Regions from separate parts of the Homo sapiens genome. Here regions 2, 3, 4 and 5 are each linked to region 1. The links are contacts of gene promoters, found by promoter capture Hi-C in blood cells and fetal thymus (Javierre and others, 2016). All regions are on one chromosome and are shown on one strand. Each heading gives the region's core, a stretch centred on a gene start or on the middle of the fragment in contact. The rest is flanking DNA. Distances are from core to core; before and after follow the strand shown. Region 1 holds the start of MTMR6 (myotubularin related protein 6). Region 2 holds the start of PAN3 (poly(A) specific ribonuclease subunit PAN3). Region 3 overlaps LNX2 (ligand of numb-protein X 2). Region 4 has its middle 2.9 kb from the start of MTIF3. Region 5 overlaps GTF3A (general transcription factor IIIA).

Region 1 (3,472 bases), core at 578-3,077:
ATGTGATATTGGGCAAGTTACTTCACTTCATTGTGTCTCGCTTGTCTCATCTCTAAAATAAAGAAAGCAATAGCATTTTCCTCAGAATACCCGTAAAGCACTCAGTACATTTGGTCACCTGACATCATTATGATTGCCTCTCTGTGAGAATTGGTAAAGAGAGGACACAGGAAGTGAGGAGATGAGAAGAGGGAGGATAATCTGTAGGGGAATGGGGAAGGAGGAAGTTGTAAATTGGGAGGAAAATGATATAAAAAGTTTTGTTAAGAAAGTCTTGCTGTATGCTATACAATTCACCTCTTTCTGTTTTCTCAAAAAGCAATCCTCAGTAAAGACCTACATTACTTTTCTCTCTCTCTATATATATATATATGTGTATATATATATATATGTATATATATATATATATATATGTGTATATATATATATATATATATTTTTTTTTTTTTCTGAGCAGGATTTGTGGGGTTTTTTTTCGGGGGGAGGGGGTGGATGTGATACTGTACTAAGGTTGGTTTCTAGGTGGTTTAATGTAACTCTTATTACATATTTAGCTTAGAGGAGTCAGCAACTCCACCGCAAAGGCTGTTGTGTTTAATAACCATCTCCATTGCTTTGGCAATCTGTCTGAAACATCGTAGGCACTCAAAACAAAACAAACCAAGACAACTTGAACAAAATGAAACAAATAAGTGAAACAAAATTTTTAATTATAAAAGAAAATTTAGATGTTAGGCTTTTCTAACACCAATCACAGTATGAAAGATGAAGATTACAAACCTTAACCGGCTTAGTACAGAATACTTACAAAACGTAGAGCAGAGTTTCTCGGACTCTAACTCCTGACCTCAAGTGATCCGCCCGCCTCAGCCTCCCAAAGTTCTGGGATTACAGGCGTGAACCACCGCGCCTGGCATAGAGCAGGGTTTCTCAACCTCTGCACTGTTGTCATCTGCCGGATAATTCCCTGTAGTTGGGGGGTTGGTCTGGTGCCTAGTAGGGTGTTCAGCAGCCGACTTGTGACTTGGCCTCCACCCACCAGTTGCCCCCCGCCGCCACCCCCCCACCACCACCATTTGAGACAACCAAAAATATCTCCAGATGTTACCAAATGTCCCCCGGGGAGAAAACTCACTCCAGGCTGAGAAGTACCACATTAGACGTGTTCTAACAAAAATTACCTGTAACCCTCACCTAGAAATGTAAACTTTTTGTTTACATAAATAAAAATTACAGAGCACGGCTACATTGAACTTATTGTTCCATAGTCAGTTTTTTCTTCACTCAGTAATGCAGCATTAACATTTTCGTTATGTGATATCCCTCTACAGGATGAGTTTTAATGGATGCTGGTGCTAACATCGTATGAAATTGAGGTAGGAGGCGGGACTCTGACACCAGACCAGATTGAGGACTAGCTAATCATCATACTTTACATAAGGAATCCGTAGGATTGGAGAGTTGATTGTTTCAAATAAGGCTGGTTTCCTTATTTGGTTATTTCCTTAGAATAATAACTCCAAATCTGATTATTTCCTTAGAATACATTCTTATGAGTAGAACTGCAGCTCAAACTAAATTTGGTGCTGTCCAGTGGTATGGCGATGGACTTCAGAACATCCTCCACTCTTGCCCTCACCCCACAAGAACCCTTTACTCGGGATCCATTCTCACGCAGTCTTCCTCCCCGACCGCCCCGCGCGTCCGCTCGGCGGGATGACAAAGACCGCCTCGGGTGGGGTGGTGAGCAGTACCGGCCTCCTCCAGCAGGGGGCGCTGTGGGATCCGCCGCTGTCCGGGACGAACCAGCAAGCCGCTCTCGGTCCACACACGCTCTGTCTGCCTGCCCCGAGTCCCCCGGGAGGCCGCGGGGTTTGGGGAAGTGTTTCTAGGAGACGGCGCTCACCGGCTGCACCTGCGCCGTTGACGCCACCGGGGCCGGCAGACAGACCCGCGGCGCTGGCTGGTGGAGGGAGTTCCCGCTTGCTCTCTGTCGCTGTCACCGCCCTGTTTCTGTAGCCGTATGGTACGCCTGTGAGACCGGCTGCCGGCTGACGTCTCCTTGCGATGGAGCATATCCGGACGACCAAGGTAGTCGGGCGCGGGATCGCCAGTCTTCAGGGGCCCTGCTCTGACCCGGCTGAGGCAGGAGGAGACGAAGGCTCTGCTGGCCTGACTGGGGCTGGGAGCCGGCCCGGCGGAGACCCGGCCCGGGGCGGGAGGGTCTGGCCAGGCCTGGTCTGGGAGGGCAGGGTTAGCTTGGGCCAAGCGGGGTGCAGAGGCCTCCTGTACCTACAGGAGCAGGGGTCCCACTTTCAGCATCTTGGAGTGCGTAGAGATAAGTCTGGGAAAACTGGTCACCGCCCTCCTAGCTCTACGTTTTCTCGGGCAAAATTGGGGCTCCTTTAACTTTGGAGTCTTTCAGCCTTTCGTTGCCTCATCAACCGGAAAACCGTCTTCAAATTAACATTATGATGCTGTGTAAGCTTGTCCTTGCTCACATTTCATTGTCCCGTGTCACAGATTCACAGTACGAGTTTTGGAGGAACCGAGATCAGCACTCCGCTCCACCTCCCTTTGCTGTCTCGGTCTCCAGTCTTTCGCATCCGGTGTTTCCGTGTCTGTGCTTCATACTTCAGGCATTGTCCTGTGTCAGTAGTCAAGAGTTCTGGAGAAGGGAAAAATGTTATTCCATATTTTAAAAGGTCGGATGCAGCTTTATTCGATTGACCTTATTGCACTCCATGCTTAATTTTTGTGTGTGGAAGACCTTCATTTTGAGAACGAACAAATATTTTTATTTCGTTACAAATTTAAAAACGGAAGGAAATGACATCAGAATGTTACCAAATTACGTTTCCAACGACATTTAAGTTTAACTTTGAGAGGGAGAAAAACATAAATCGAGACGAGAAGAATAACATTTTAAAATCACTGCGAGCCCACTGCAAGGCAGCCTCTTGACGTTTTGGCAAAGCTGAAGCCCTTTAGTTGCTGCCCATCTTAAAATTACGGCTCATTTAGGGAACCACAGATGTTCGTTATCTTCATTGTTCCAAGAAGAATTTGTGTTTTTAAAAATTTTTTAAATGTTTCACAAACCTTTTAAAGGTATACATAAATTTTTATTGGAGCTTGTCTTTAACATTGTGCATACCGTATCTAGTAAAATTGAAGATTCTGAAAACTAACCCCTTAACATTTTTTTTTAAGAGAAGAAAGATAAAATAACTTGAGAATTCAAGTTGTGGGTACTTAAATTTTGAAAATGGAAGGGTGCTTAAGTCTATAACCAAACTCGTAGAAGGTGCACAGAGGAAAAGAGGACTAGAGTGGACATTGGATCAGGTTCTTGTATTGGTTCCAGATATGTATTATGTAGTAGCTAAGTGCACGTGACTTCCTTCTGCATCAGTTCGAAGCTCCTCTATTTTTCATATGCTTTCTACGGTGCATAGCACACAATCGAAAA
Region 2 (3,472 bases), core at 271-2,770, 2.9 Mb before region 1:
GAGGCAACAGAATCGCTTGAACTCGGGAGGCGGAGGTTGCAGTGAGCTGAGATCGCGCAACTGCACTCCAGCCTGAGCGACAGGGCGAGACTCTCTCCAAAACAACAACAACAACAACAACAACAACACATGAAAAAGAAATATAAACAGCCTTAAGATGTCCCCACCCAAGTGCTCAGTCGCACATAAACGCAGGCTGCACATGACATGCATTCAAGACACAATGCTGAGTTTGCTTGATACAAAGCTATAGAAGACAGGATCCCAGCTGACACCAGCAAACTTATTCTAGCTTTCAGGGAAACTCAGATGAAATGCGTCTTTGTGAAATCCCTACTCTAAACTCTCGATTAAACCTGAGCACACTTTGAACGCGACAGTCCGCTCCCTCCTAATCCTTAGAAAGCATTTCCTGCCTGCAAAACCTTTCTCCCGCAAGCCTTCTACAAACTTTTTCCGTTCTTTCAACCTACTCCACGAAGCCTTAAGCCCGCCCCTCACCTCCCGCCCCCTACACACACACACACACACACACACACACACACACACAAACACACCCCTCCCCACTAGGGAACCTCAACACTCTGCAGACGCCACTCCACAAGGACACGCAAAACACATGTGCCTGCAAACCCAGCCCCTTTCCACACCCCCCGGAAACGACACCCCCTTTCTCACACTCCGCACGCCACAGCCCATCCCCCTTCCTCCCCGCCCCCCCTTCACATCACCCCAGTCCTCCCACCCACGTTCCCGGGAACCCAACCTCCCCGCGCTCTCCGACTTGCCGAAGGCAGTGGGGAGGGGAAGCAGGAAGAAGGAAGGAGGGCTCAGGCCCGGCCTAGGCCTCTCAGACCGCCTTGGGAGGTGAGGGGGGGAGCCCGCGGGCCGTGCTCAGCTCCCGTCGGCAGCAGGGCCTCATCCGGCCCAGGCCTGCCCTCCGCCGCCGCGGCCCGCCCCGCCCGAAAAACACTCACTTGCCAGCCGCGGTCCATCGAGTCCCCCGCTACTGCCTCCTCCGCCGGCTGCGGCTCCGGTCCCCGGGTCCCCCAGGTCCGGCTTCTTGGGCCCGGGGGGCGGCCCAGCTCCCCCGCCCGCGACGGCTCCCGGCGGAAAGCCGGCCACGGGTGCACCAGCCAGAGCCAGGGGGACGCTGTTGCTATGGAGGCCGAGGCCCGGGGCAGCCCCGGCGGCAGGGTCCTCATGCAGGAACTGACACTCCTCCCCGTAGAAGCAAGTCTTATCCTTAGCGTAGTAGCGGCAGTACTTCAGCTTCACTCCTACCGCCGCCCCGCCGGGGACACCCCCGACCCCCGGCGGGGCCACCACCGCCACCGCCGCCGCCAGCGAGGAGGAGGAAGGGGAGGCGGCGGCCGAGGGGGGCGGGAGGCCGCCGCCACTGTTCATGGCAACGCCGCAGCCTCGTCTTCCGCCGCCGCCCGAGGAGCCGCCGCCGCCACCACCATAGACGGGGGAGGAAAGGAAGACGCTGCCGGTGCCGGATAAAAGCCTGGGCGGGTGGGTCTGTCCCGCTGCGGGAGCCGGAGCCGCCCGGGGAGAAGGGGGAGGGGAGAGGGGAGGGAGGAGGGGGTAGAAGGAGGGAGGGTAGGGGGAGAGTTGGGATTCTCTCACTCACTCTCTCGTTCTCTTTTCTTAAAGGGGCCGCGCGGGACGACGGGGTGAGCGCGCGGGCCCAGACGGGGACTTCGAGGGCGCGGGCAGGGGAAGAGGGAGCGGCAGCGGCAAGCGGGTGGGGAAGGCGGAGGGGCCGGTTTATTTTTAAATTCTGCCTCCACTCGCTCTCTCGCGCTCTGGTTCCTCCGAGTTGTTTATTCCATTTTCCTCTTCCTGAGACGGCCGTCGCCGCTGCGCGTGCGCGCTGAGACGCGAGGGCTTATGGGTAGCGGGAGCGCTAGGGGAAGCCTGGCCGGCGTCGGGCCCCCGGGGGCATCCGCGAGCTATCGGCGGTTGGACCGGCGGCTCTCGGTGGGGTTCCGGACGCGGATCTGGCGCCGAATTCTCACGAGACCTGATACCTTCCTTATTTGTATATTCTCTTACTTAAAAAGCCAGATGTCTTTTTTTTTTTTTTCATTGAAAAGAGAAAATTGACAAGGTAAACGGTCGTTTGGAGGGGCCACCTGGGGACGCGGCCCGAGCCCTGGCTCTACCTGAAGAATATCTTCTATTTGCCACACTTCCTCTCCCCGTTTCCTTTCTTCGCCCCTCTCCTCTTTCCCCTTCCCCTCGAAGGTAATGAGAACTACTGGACCGATTACGCTAACCTCTTGGCCCTTTGTCAAAAAATGGAGCCAAAAAGGTTGATTTAGACAGACCCCCTGCTCAGTGCAGCACCTGTTATTCTCTGTATTTATATTACCAAGGGCCTTCGGTAAATTATGAAAAATAGGATGCCACCTGGGACAACACTGCTTAGACAGCACTGGAAGACCTTTATAAATATACTAGGTTGCTTTTCTCCAATCAGCCTAGCCTTGATTTGAAATTCATTTTTATTTTTTTTGAGACGGTGAAATTCATTTTTAAAAGATAGTTTTAACCTCAGCGATCTCTGATGTTTGCGCTAATACCCTTTTAAAGGCTTTCAGAAATTTTAAAGAATTGCTATGAAAGGAAAAGTAACATTCTAGTTTTTCTCTGTAAAAGAGGTTCACAAACGGCAGATCGCTGTTATGAAAAGGAGGGGTGGAAGTATTTAAGGAATTGTGGCAAACAAAGTCACAGAAGAATGGATATAAGCAAAAGTAGCACACTGAAAAAAATGGGGAAAAGTGGAGTCTAGATCACAAACTGGTAAGCTTGGTGATGTTCTCTAGCCAAATTCGAAGGTAATAACATTGTATTATGGCTTTCTGTTTAAAAGCAGTTTCGCTTATTTGATTATTCAACAAATCTTTATTAACACGCATTACGTGTACCAGAAACTGTGGTACACTTAACTGTGGAGCTGGGGAAGCAAAAGTGAACATGCCGCCTTAAGTGAGTTCAGATGGCTTATCTTCCGGTTGGGGAGGCATCAAGTACACAGGTCCGTTGTAAACCAGTGTCTTAAGTGCTAACCTTATCACATTTGCTATTAGAGGATATTAAACATGTCAGACTTCTTGGAGAAAGTTGATATTTTCATGTTCCAAGTTTGGGAACATCATTGAATTCAGACAGATCTGGATTGAAACAGATTAAAGTGCCTACACTTTAATAGCTGTGTTCCTCTCAGTTAATTGCTTCATTTCTCTGTGCCTTGTCTGTACACCTGGATTAAGAATAGTACCTACTTCATAAAGTATAACTAATAATGTATATAAACTGTCCCATGCCTAATAAGAATTCGGTAGGTTGTAACTATTATTAATAGTATTGGCCAGGCGCAGTGGCTCACGCCTGTAATCCCAGCACTTTGGGAGGCCAAGGCGGGTGGATCACCTGAGATCAGGAGTTCGAGACCAGTCTG
Region 3 (3,472 bases), core at 290-2,789, 2.3 Mb before region 1:
TCCTCTGTGTGTGTGTGGTGTCGGCAATGAGAGTGGCACTAGCTGCCTTTATCGGGTTTTGTTCTCTGGAAAGGGATGGGGAGAGATCATTCCCTCCGCCCCAGCCTGTTGCCTGTGAATTCTCACCTTTCTCTTTAGGCTGGAGAGGGTGGGAGAGAGATTTGACATCTTCCAGGGGGTAATTTAAAAATATGAATCTTGATTTGGAAGCAGTTGCACACAAAGCATCATTCAGGAAATACATCACTCGCTTTTCAAAGCTGTATGCCACGTTTTAAACAAGGACTTTTGACTCATGTAGTGTTTCTTTTAGTATTTCAGTTTACGTTAAGTTTATGAATCCAGACGTTCGTTTGTACCAGGAGCTAAAGTACACTTATGCATGGGCTTTGCTGTGTATATTATGCTTTTTAAAATCACAGAAATCAGAAACAAAGTTGAGTGAAAAGCGGTGGCGGTGCAGGAGGAGGAACACTTGTGAGCTCCAGCTTATTGGAACTGCCTTTAAGAATTTCACATTCTTGCGGCAATAGTACTTACTTGTAAATTGGCCTTCTTCCCAGGACAGGTTTTGATATTTCTTTTGCATGTACTTCGATGCAGCACTAATGAAGTTGGATCTCAGTAGATCAATTTTATTTACTTTGCTAGATTTGATTCCCACCCCCACACCTCTTTAGAAAATGGACTTTGGCAGGTAAAGAAGGAAGCGGGAATCTGGTATCCTTTTTGGCTTGTCAAAGCTTTGTTGAGCCATGAATAACAAAGTTTTGGCTTTTTAGCTTGTCCGAGTCCCACATGTGAGTTTTCCCATGGGGTAAAAGTAGGCCAAATGAGAACCAAAGTAGAATAACATCACTTTTAATTCGGCCCACTTGTGTGTTACATTCTCCATATATCTTGTTTCTCTCATCAACTTTGAAATTTTTTCATTATTTATTCATTTAGCCACTGATAAAGTACCTACTGCATGCCAGCCATTGATGGCGGGGGTTGCTTCTTGCCCAGTTTTCTCATTTGGAAACTGATCCATGCCTTTATCCCACTAGTTACCCTGAAGTAATTTGAACTTAGGGAGCATTTCTGCCTGGAGACCTGTAAGAATAGGTGTTACGTAGGCACTTAGTCTTCAGATTGGTTTGGGATTTCGTACATTGTAGGCACGTAGCACGCAGGCCACTTAAAAATAAATGTATGTGTCTTTGGGCTGTTGTATTACGAGCTTTGCATATGGGCTTGTCTGGCCGAAGGACCCAGTGTCCGAGGTGGAGGTAGTAGTCAGGGACATGTATTATTCATTTCAGAACACTTGGCACCTTTTCTTGCTTACATTGGGCACTAAAATATTTACTGAATTGACTTGAACAGAAAAATGAAGGATTTTTTATACCAGATTAAGAAATTTGGACTTTATCCAGTCAGTGATACTGAGCTGCTAATTTTAAGCAGGAGAATGTCATGATAACGGGTAAGCATTCCAGAAAGATATCTGCAGCGTCTGGAGGATGGTGGGCTTCCAGATGGGCGATATGGAGACTAAGTTGGAGGCTGTTCTAATGGAGGGGTTAAGTGCTCAGGGATTCTCTATTCAGATTACCTGGGGTGGAATCAGGCTCTGTCATACACTGAAACCTCTTTGTTCCTTAGGTTTGTCATCTCAGAGTTTGGGGGATAGAACTTGAAAAAACATGTCTATTACTTAGAATAGTGATTGCCAGATAGTAAGGACTTAGTAAATGCTAGTGTGCTGGCAGTGGAAGGAGAAATGACGTGGTGTTTAAGAGGTATGACTAGGAGGCTGGACTAGGTAAGTGACTGGGTAGGCTTAAGGAGGGAAGGATGAATCCTGGGTTGTTTGACTTCAGGCATTGATTGACATGTACTGGGTAAGCTGGCTGTGAAATTAAAACGGGTCAAATTCTAATTCTATTACTTACCCTTAGAATAACTATCCTGACAGAACTTTGATTTCCTAACATTTGGGAAATGATTGTCGTACCTGTTGAGTAGGGTTTGAGGAATTATGCATGTAATGCCTTTGGCAGGGTACCTAGCACATTCCAAGTGCTCAGTAAATATTAGTTGTTCCTTTAGATGATGACATTAATGAGCTAGTGGAATGTTGGAGGATATGAGAAGGAGCAGTTAAAAACAATTGATGGTAGAGGTGTAGAAGGGAAGATAAGTTCAGTTTTGGACTAATCTAAGGAGGTGCTAAATGGATGGTTGAGAGATCCATGATGCAGTTGTTGGATAGTTGTGTCTCACAGGAGCTAGGAAAGAATAGAAAAGAAAAAGAGTTCACAGAAAGGCTTTATGAGTATGGTAAGCTTTATGAGAGATTTAGAGGAAGGGGAGGGTGAAGGGGTTCACAGTGGAGCGATATCAGAAGTGTTGACATTGAATATTAGGCATTTCTATCCTTAAAATATATTTTGGCCACCATCAAAGAAAGGAGGACTCCAGGCTCTTGTAATCTGGTTGGCTCTTTGGCCTTCTTCCCCTCTTCTTTCTTTCCTTTACAATTGCCACCCGATATCTTTAAATTGTATTATGAGGAACTATTTAACTTTCCTTCCTGCTTACAGGGCTAGAGTTCACAGGCCCACCTTCCTCTATCCAAATGCATCTAGGTTTTTAAAAAAGAATCACAGGTCTCATTTCATAGGTTCTCCTCTATTTAGGAAGCAGTGTTGTTTGAAAAAGTAATACATATGTATCTTGCATGTAGAATTAGAAGACTGGGGCAGGCCTACCTAAATTGACCCTGTAGGAGGGCCTGAGAGTCTTACAAAAGACATCCCTTTTAGCTTTCCTGGCACCTGTTTCTTTTCCTCAGAAAATACAAAGCAGTAGGAAAATCTGTGGTTAATAAGTTATTTTGTTTGGTTGGATTCAGAAAAGGTGGCTATTTTGTGTATTAGCCTTCTAAGAAGTTATTAAGAGGAATTTTTTGGCCAGGTGCAGTGACTCACGCTTATAATTCTAGCACTTTGGGAGGCTGAGGCGGGCGATCACGAGGTCAGGAGTTCAAGACCAGCCTGGCCAACACAGTGAAACCCTGTCTCTACTAAAAATACGAAAATTAGCTGGGCGTGGTGGCAGGTGCCTGTAATCCCAGCTACTCAGGAGGCTGAGGCAGGAGAAATCGCTTGAACCCGGGAGCTAGAGGTTTCAGTGAGCTGAGATTGCGCCACTGCGCTCCAGCCTGGGTGATAGAGCTAGACTCCATCTCAAAAAAGGAATTTTTTAACAAGCAAGTGCTCATGACATTACAATAATAAATTGTCCTCTAGTTAGTATGCTTTTAAAGAAGCAGGTGTTGTAGGTTCTATCCTTTAGAATGTGTGCTTCCTAGAGCTGGGATCCTATCTATTTTGCTAACTGCAGAATCCCTAAGTACTTAAACAAATATTAATGTATTGTAAACCAAAAATAAAATTCTAAGCTTCCCCCTCTCCCCAGCCATCTG
Region 4 (3,472 bases), core at 626-3,125, 2.2 Mb before region 1:
CTTGTAACTACGTCTCACATAGGTGTTTAAAAATAGTATAGGGTTGCATTCTTTTTTTTTTTTGTTTTGAGATGGAGTCTCCCTCTGTCATCCAGGCTGGAGTGCAGTGGCGCAATCTTGGCTCACTGCAACCTCCGCCTCCCTGGTTCAAGGGATTCTCCTGCCTCCGCCTCTCAAGTAGCTGGGACTACAGGCACACACCACCATGCCCAGCTAATCTTTTTTCTTTTTTTTTTTTTTTTTTGTATTTTTAGTAGAGATGGGGTTTCGTCATGTTGGCCACGCTGGTCTTGAACTCCTGACCTCATGATCTGCTTGCCTCGGTCTCCCAAAGTCCTGGGGTTACAGGCATGAGACACTGTGCCCGGCTGGGTTGCATTCTAAATGTAAAATGCTAACTAATCATTTGGTACTGTTTTGCTTTATCTACACAACAGTCAGCATGGTACACTTTGTACTAGCTCTTTGTTGTTCTGCATGATGTCCTATGATGGTAATAGAAATTATTTTCATTGTTTCAAAACGATCAAAGTTAACTGAATCACCTCAAAACTCAACACCTCTGAAATGGAAAGACATGTCTCTGTTGTGTTCCAAATGAAACTTCTGAACCTATTTTCTGCTTCTGCAGTTGCACAAGAGACTTTTCACAGAAGTGGATCTTCCATATACAAATATTTTTATTTGGCAGATATGAAAGTTTTTAAAACTTTATTACAATATGTCATTCATTTTAGACATTTTGCTGATTCACAACCACCACGTTTTAATAACTGAGGCCATCATATTCTGACAAGAGAAATGATTAATCTGGAGTCTAATGTTATGGGAAATCTCACTCATGGTAAGGAAATTTATTTTGAATCTAGCAAATAGTTTGAGAGCACACAAAGGGTTATAACACAGATGTGGTCACCAGATGTTCTCCAGCTCTACTGCAGAACCAGACTAAGTAGCAACATGATGGATTTAGGTTATGTAAAGGAAAAGACTCCCGTCTTATAAAACATTGAAATGAGAAGCTAAATCTCCTGGCCTCGAGTTTTGTTTTGGCTTGTTTTAAATATAGAGATGTTTTACATGTTTGGAATGGATTAATTATAGTCCTGCCTGAGGAAAATGGTAGAGATTTCATAAGAAGGCTTTCGGCTTTAATAGTTTCTAACAGACAATAATAGACACACAATATTGGGCTGACAGTATCTTCAGGAAGCTTTGAACGAGTTACCTAACACTCAGCCAAAGCCTCTTGCATGCCTTGTTTCTATGACTCTTGACAAGTCTGTAAACATCAACTAAGGAGAGCATGGACCCTTTTGGCTATTAAACTGGCCTTGTAATGACAGAGTTGCTGCTGTTTAAGATAACTGCTCTCAGCTACATTTAGTTGGCACTACATAGGATCTCACACATAATAGACTTAAATTCCCCCAATTTTAGCAAAACTGCCCAGGTAAGAGTTTATAATCTGGAGAGGGAGGAGTATCTAATCTATGAACAATTATTTGTTAAAGAATATGCTGAATATCTGAACCCACATGGGCTTTAAAGTTTGAAGATGCTTCGTATCTTCAAAATAAACCCAAGATTTTGACTGGGCATGGTGGCTCATGCCTGTAATCCCAGCACTTTTTGGGGCCGAGGCAGGTGGATTACCTGAGGTCAGGAGTTCGAGACCAGCCTGGCCAACATGGTGAAATCCCGTCTGTACTAAAAATATAAAAACTAGCCAGGCGTGGTAGTGGGTGCCTATAATCCCAGCTACTTGGGAGGCTGAGGCAGGAGAACTGCTTGAATCCAGGAGGCGGAGGTTGCAGAGCCGACACGGTGCCACTGCACTCCAGCCTCGGCAGCAGAGTGAGACTCCGTCTCAAAAAACAAACAAACAAAACAAAAAAACAACCACCACCAGGATTTTTATTAGTATTAGATTTTTAAATGAATTGTTAGTCATTGTGGCATTATAAAGACGCAGCCCAGTGTTCATAACTTTTTAAAGAAATCACCCACAGACTGATTCTTTTGTGGATCAGATATGTTGTACCTCAATGACCTTGGGCTAAGCAAGTAAATCTCACATACAATCCTGTTTTGGAAGGTCCCCTCGGCGTTGGGGAAAAGTGGGAGGACTTGGAAAGCTAACAGGCAAAGAGAGGGACGGGATATTTCCATTATTCCTTCATCAGAGCAAATCACCAATATATTCATTGAAAGAGAAAGTTCATGGGCATGCTATGGAAATTAACGTAGAAATTACTATGTAATAGAAAATATAGGCATTTTTAGAGTCACCATGATTTGAGTCTTATTGAGTTACATTTTTTGAGGGGGTTAAATTATATGTAGAAACGATAACAATTGGGAAAGCTCTACACATGTCTCAGAGTCCTCTTCTATGTACATAACGGAGTAGTTTATTAAAGATCTGTGGCATAGTAATAGCATTTCCCCAAACCTCTTCATCTTTATTCAAGGATCTTCAAAGTCTGCCCCCACCAAGCACAGCTCAAGGCTCTCAATGACTCTTTAAAAGCTTCCAAGTGGCCGGGCGTGGTGGCTCACACCCGTAATCCTACCACTTTGGGAGGCCGAGTGGGGTGGATCACCTGAGGTCAGGAGTTCGAGATCAGACTGGCCAATATGGTGAAACCCCGTCTCTACTAAAAATACAAAAATTAGCCCGACCCAGTGGCACGCGCCTATAATCCCAGCTACTCGGGAGGCTGAGGCAGGAGAATCGCTTGAACCCGCGAGGTGGAGGTTGCAGTGAGCCGAGATCGCGCCACTGCACTCCAGCCTGGGCGACACAGAGAGACTCCATCTCCAAAAACAAAACAAAACAAAACAAAACAAAAAAACAAAAAACCCCACAAAAGCTGCCAAGCTCCATTTCGGCTGGAGGTCAAAGAAGAGTTCAAGGGAAAAGATGAAAAAAATGGCTTCTCTCCATCTGTGGGCATGTCTGTAATTGCCACCCCATCTCTGCATGTCTCCTCCCAGGAACACTAAAGCACCATCTTCTAGGCGTGGAGACATCTGACAATGGAAGTCTAGAAAGCTTCCTAAACCACCTGCTCTGGACACAGCTGCCTTCAAAGACGGACTGCAAATGGATGCTGGCCGGTAGCTTCAGTTACCAGTGATTACTTGGTGTGAATCTACCTGTGCTATTACCTTAGCAAATTTTAAGTCTTTAGTTTGGGCATTAAATGTTTCAGTTACTTGTACATACTTCACATCCTTTTAATGTTTTCATGGACTCGTACTGTTTACTGTTTCTCTCACTACTTCAGTCTAGCAATGCAAGGAACATTTAAAGTTTGCCTGGGTTTGGGGTTTTTTGGCTTTTTTATTCTTGATTCTGCTACTAGTTGTGCGACCTTGGGCAAATTTGTTTCAGTTCCCTCATCTGTAAAATGGGTAATAATAATAATTGGCTCATAAGGTTGTCCTGAAGATTGAATAACTTGAG
Region 5 (3,472 bases), core at 973-3,472, 2.1 Mb before region 1:
GAAGATCAAACAGAAAAGTGAGCTCAGTTTGACTGTGACAAATTTGGGCCATGTGGAATTTTTTATTTATTTATTTCTTTAATAGAGATGGACCTGACCATCTTGCCCAGCCTGAACTCCTGGCCTCAAAGCAATCCTCCCACCTCAGCCTCTCAAAGTGCTGGGATTACAGGCATGAGCCACCACACCCAGCCTACCACATGGAATTTAAGAAGACACAGAGATAGCCAAGTAGCACTGTCCAGCGAGCAGTGGGAAACGGGGAACTACAGCTAAAGAGGGGCAGGGTCTGGGTTAGATCATGAGCTGGAAGAGTCATGTCCAGTAGTTCCTGGTTGCATGGCATTTCCTACCATCCCCACCCCCTACTTGGCCAGGATCCCCCACTGCTCCCAAAACAGATGACATTTTTAGTTTTGTTATGTAACTTTTAAGACTTCTTTACAAATAGGAACAAATACAAATATAGTTGCTTCCTGCCTACCCAACACCCACTACTCACCCCTCCCCCTACCCCCTAGCTTTTTTACACACATAAAAGTAGCCTAAAGAGGACTCTTCTGCACCTTGGTTTTTCAATTAAAGTGCCCTGGTGATTTTCTCATGGCTTTGCAGAGAGCATCTGCATTCATTTTCCTGGCTGTAGGGTATCCCATTGTGTTGATATACTTTAGCTTGTCCCCACCCATGAGCATTTTATGTTAGCTCAGCCTCCTGGGTAGCTAGGATTACAGGCACAAACCACCATCCCTGACTAATTTTTGTATTTTTGTACATACGGGGTTTCACCATGTTGCCCAGGTTTGTCTCAAACTCCTGGGTTCAAGTGATCTGCCCATCTCCGCCTCCCAAAGTGCTGGGATTACAGGCATGAGCCACCGAGCCCTGCCAGGCTTCACATTCCTGATCTCGTGAGTTAACATCAATCTTCTTACTGGGTCTATATGCCCAACACAACCCACTTCAAAAGCCTAAAAACAGGTCTCTACTTACACAAACGGCTTTTCTCCTGTGTGAGTCAGAATGTGGCGGCTCAGATGGTAGTCCCTGATGAAGGCCTTGCCACACCCTTCATAGTCACAAACAAATGGTCTCTAGCAGGAAAAAAGAAAAAGCATGTCACTTCTGCACTAGTTAGTAACTCTGGTATTATTTAAAAGCTTAAACTGCCTAGTGTTAAGGCCACAGGCTTCCTATGAAGAGGTGGTTTCTACTCAGAGCTGTGCACCCACTGCAAGACGCAGTGTTCCTGCACAAAGTTACACAACATAAACATCACAACTTCTCACAAAGTCACTACACAGATTTTTGTTCCATGAACAGCATTTAAAATAAGCAGGCATAGCATTTTTAACCTGCTCCCAACCCGGCAGCAGGCTTTCACAGCAACCCCCTCTTAAAGACGCCCTGGCTGTTAGCATGGCTTGTCTGCATGGATCCCCACCACCGCATGATTTAACATGTAAAAAAGCAAGCCTAGGGCAGAGGAACGAGGGAGGCCTGTCTCATCCCAGACAAGCCCAGGGTCTGTGCTAGGATAATGCCAAGCACAGCTATAGGAAAGTGTGTCACACCTGAAAAAGCTCACAGGTGCCAGGGCGAAGCAAAGAAAACAGCTCAACACCCTAAATGCAACCACCTTTTGTAACCCAGGAGTTGGGAGGGGGTGACTCATTTTGAACCTATAGTAAAAGCCAAACACACACCCCAAATAACCAAATAACCAGTTTGGTGCATCAAACTATGAAAAGCATACTACCAAGGCGTCCAGGAGGGAGGCACCGAGGCCTCCATGAGAGTACTAGGAGCAAAACAAGCAAACAGGAACACAGTGAGCTACATACCACCAGGGGCGGAGCCACAGAACCTTGCACAGCGGCAGGCGTGGAGTAGGCTCAATAAACATTTGTCAAATTAATCTGCATGAGAGATCTGGGACAACAAAGATGACTCCAAGTTTTTCAACCTGTATTAAGGAAACTGGTAGCGCCAGTATCCAAAATACAGCACACCGGTCTAAAAGGAAAGGCAAGCTCTTACGTGGATCTACTGGTAATACAGAGCCCAGAATTTAGAGGCTAGAACGGGCAAGAGGAAGGGCAGAGGGGCAAAGCATAAAGGATGTTATGAGTCATGCCGGTGGCTATGTAAGACCGCAAGAGGGAGCTGGGCGGGGTGGAACATGCAGAGGGCAGAAGAGGATCCAACGAAAAGGGCAGACGAGGAAGAGGAAAAGAACCAGAGAAGGTCTCAAGGAAGAAGCGGTCGGCCTTCCAGTGCTGGAGAGGTTAAGGAATGAGGCCCCGGAGGACACCTGGAGAAGGTGGCCCATAAATTAGAGGAGGTGCAAGGGGCAAAGGTATGGACTGCAGCCCAGTGGTTTAAGAAATTAAGGGCTTTAAGCTGAGGCAGTGTGAAGCCTAGCTCTGCCAAAAACTGGGAAGCTGGGCAGATTCCTTGACCTCCATGACCCTCGTTTTCCTCACTTGTGTGTGACATGGGCTGCCACGTCATATCATGGTATCTGACATTCTCCTGCCCTCAAAATAAAATCCAAACTCCTAATGGGCCTACTTCTCAGACCTCATATGGTGATCTCCGCACCCAAACACACCCACCTGCCTCCCACCCCAAGGGTCACAGGCTCCCTTTGTGTTCTCTCTACCTAGCACAAATGTCTGCATGGCTAGATCCTTCCTTCTTACACGGCTCACACAGAGAGGCCTTTCCTGACCACAACACTGCATGTCATTCCCACCTATCCTGTGGTCGGCTCGACCCAGGAACAAAGGTCCATGGCAGCAGAAACCTTGGGTTTGCCTGTTTTGCTCACTGCTCTCTCCAGTGTGGAGTTACGAAGAAATGAGCACATGCTGCTTTCACGACCCCTGGTACATGTAACCCATCTTCTGTACCAGCTCCAGGGGCCAGTGTTTGGCAGGTGTCTAGTAGCGGTGGGCCCCCTCAAACCTCACACTTATTTGCAGATTACGGGAGGCACTTGGCTGGCCGAGACTCACGATCAATGACTGCTTAGTAAATCCCGAGCCCCTGCCATGGATATCAAGGTCGCAGAACGAAGGTCCTACAACTTCCTGTCTACTTCCTCAGCTCCTTCCCCAAGTCCTGGATGTCAAAGCTGAACGCGCTGCACAGCGGGGCCTGCGGCCCTGGCCACGACTGCAGTGGCTACCCCGGGGCCACGCGCCATCCCTAGGCCCAGGGTTGGCAGCCTCGCCCCCCTCACCTCCCCCGTGTGCTTGCACAGGTGCGCGTCAAGCTTCCAGGCTTTGCTGTAATTGGCGCTGCAGTCAGGGAAGGAGCAGATGAACCTCCTGGGAAGCGCGGGGCGCGGCGGGGTCGGAGCTGAGCTCTCGCCGGCTGCAATGAACGCGTCGGCGATGGTCAAGGACGACACCGACTCGGCGACCACGGCCGGCGGATCCAGGGCGCCGGCGCCTCCAAGCCCAGG

Evidence for each region. The method cuts DNA at HindIII sites, captures the fragments that hold promoters and counts their contacts. A CHiCAGO score of 5 or more calls a contact.
Region 2: the fragment with the promoter of PAN3 here is called in contact with the fragment with the promoter of MTMR6 in region 1 in 2 of 17 cell types (fetal thymus and naive CD4 T cells); the score reaches 5.5 in fetal thymus.
Region 3: a fragment that was not itself captured here is called in contact with the fragment with the promoter of MTMR6 in region 1 in 1 of 17 cell types (non-activated CD4 T cells); the score reaches 5.2 in non-activated CD4 T cells.
Region 4: a fragment that was not itself captured here is called in contact with the fragment with the promoter of MTMR6 in region 1 in 1 of 17 cell types (fetal thymus); the score reaches 5.1 in fetal thymus.
Region 5: a contact is called between a fragment that was not itself captured here and the fragment with the promoter of MTMR6 in region 1, in 1 of 17 cell types (fetal thymus). The highest score is 5.3, in fetal thymus.

The regions. Positions count from the first base shown.
Region 1 is chr13:25,285,843-25,289,314 of GRCh38, reverse strand. MTMR6 (myotubularin related protein 6) reads left to right here and starts at 1,827. Exons shown (of 14, transcript NM_004685.5): 1 at 1,827-2,091. The coding sequence starts at 2,068. RefSeq lists enhancers at 1,514-1,683, 1,784-2,123, 1,827-2,447. The HindIII fragment of the contact is 4,901 bases long and covers 1-2,488 here.
Region 2 is chr13:28,136,593-28,140,064 of GRCh38, reverse strand. It overlaps PAN3 (poly(A) specific ribonuclease subunit PAN3), which reads right to left and starts at 1,520. Exons shown (of 19, transcript NM_175854.8): 1 at 978-1,520. The coding sequence starts at 1,407. It overlaps PAN3-AS1 (PAN3 antisense RNA 1), which reads left to right and starts at 891. Exons shown (of 2, transcript NR_029383.1): 1 at 891-1,518; 2 at 1,660-3,222. RefSeq lists an enhancer at 479-773 and silencers at 856-1,255, 1,296-1,375, 1,566-1,675. The HindIII fragment of the contact is 2,991 bases long and covers 1-2,821 here.
Region 3 is chr13:27,616,531-27,620,002 of GRCh38, reverse strand. The region is part of intron 1 of LNX2 (ligand of numb-protein X 2); the gene reads left to right. Among named protein-coding and RNA genes, the nearest start is that of LNX2, 2.3 kb to the left of the region's middle. The HindIII fragment of the contact is 1,587 bases long and covers 746-2,332 here.
Region 4 is chr13:27,451,739-27,455,210 of GRCh38, reverse strand. No RefSeq gene overlaps it. Among named protein-coding and RNA genes, the nearest start is that of MTIF3, 2.9 kb to the right of the region's middle. The HindIII fragment of the contact is 1,320 bases long and covers 1,216-2,535 here.
Region 5 is chr13:27,424,714-27,428,185 of GRCh38, reverse strand. It overlaps GTF3A (general transcription factor IIIA), which reads right to left. Exons shown (of 9, transcript NM_002097.3): 1 at 3,248-3,472; 2 at 994-1,094. The coding sequence starts at 3,448. Among named protein-coding and RNA genes, the nearest start is that of GTF3A, 1.8 kb to the right of the region's middle. RefSeq lists silencers at 1-149, 3,223-3,302, 3,403-3,462 and enhancers at 1,893-2,112, 3,063-3,132. The HindIII fragment of the contact is 2,120 bases long and covers 1,163-3,282 here.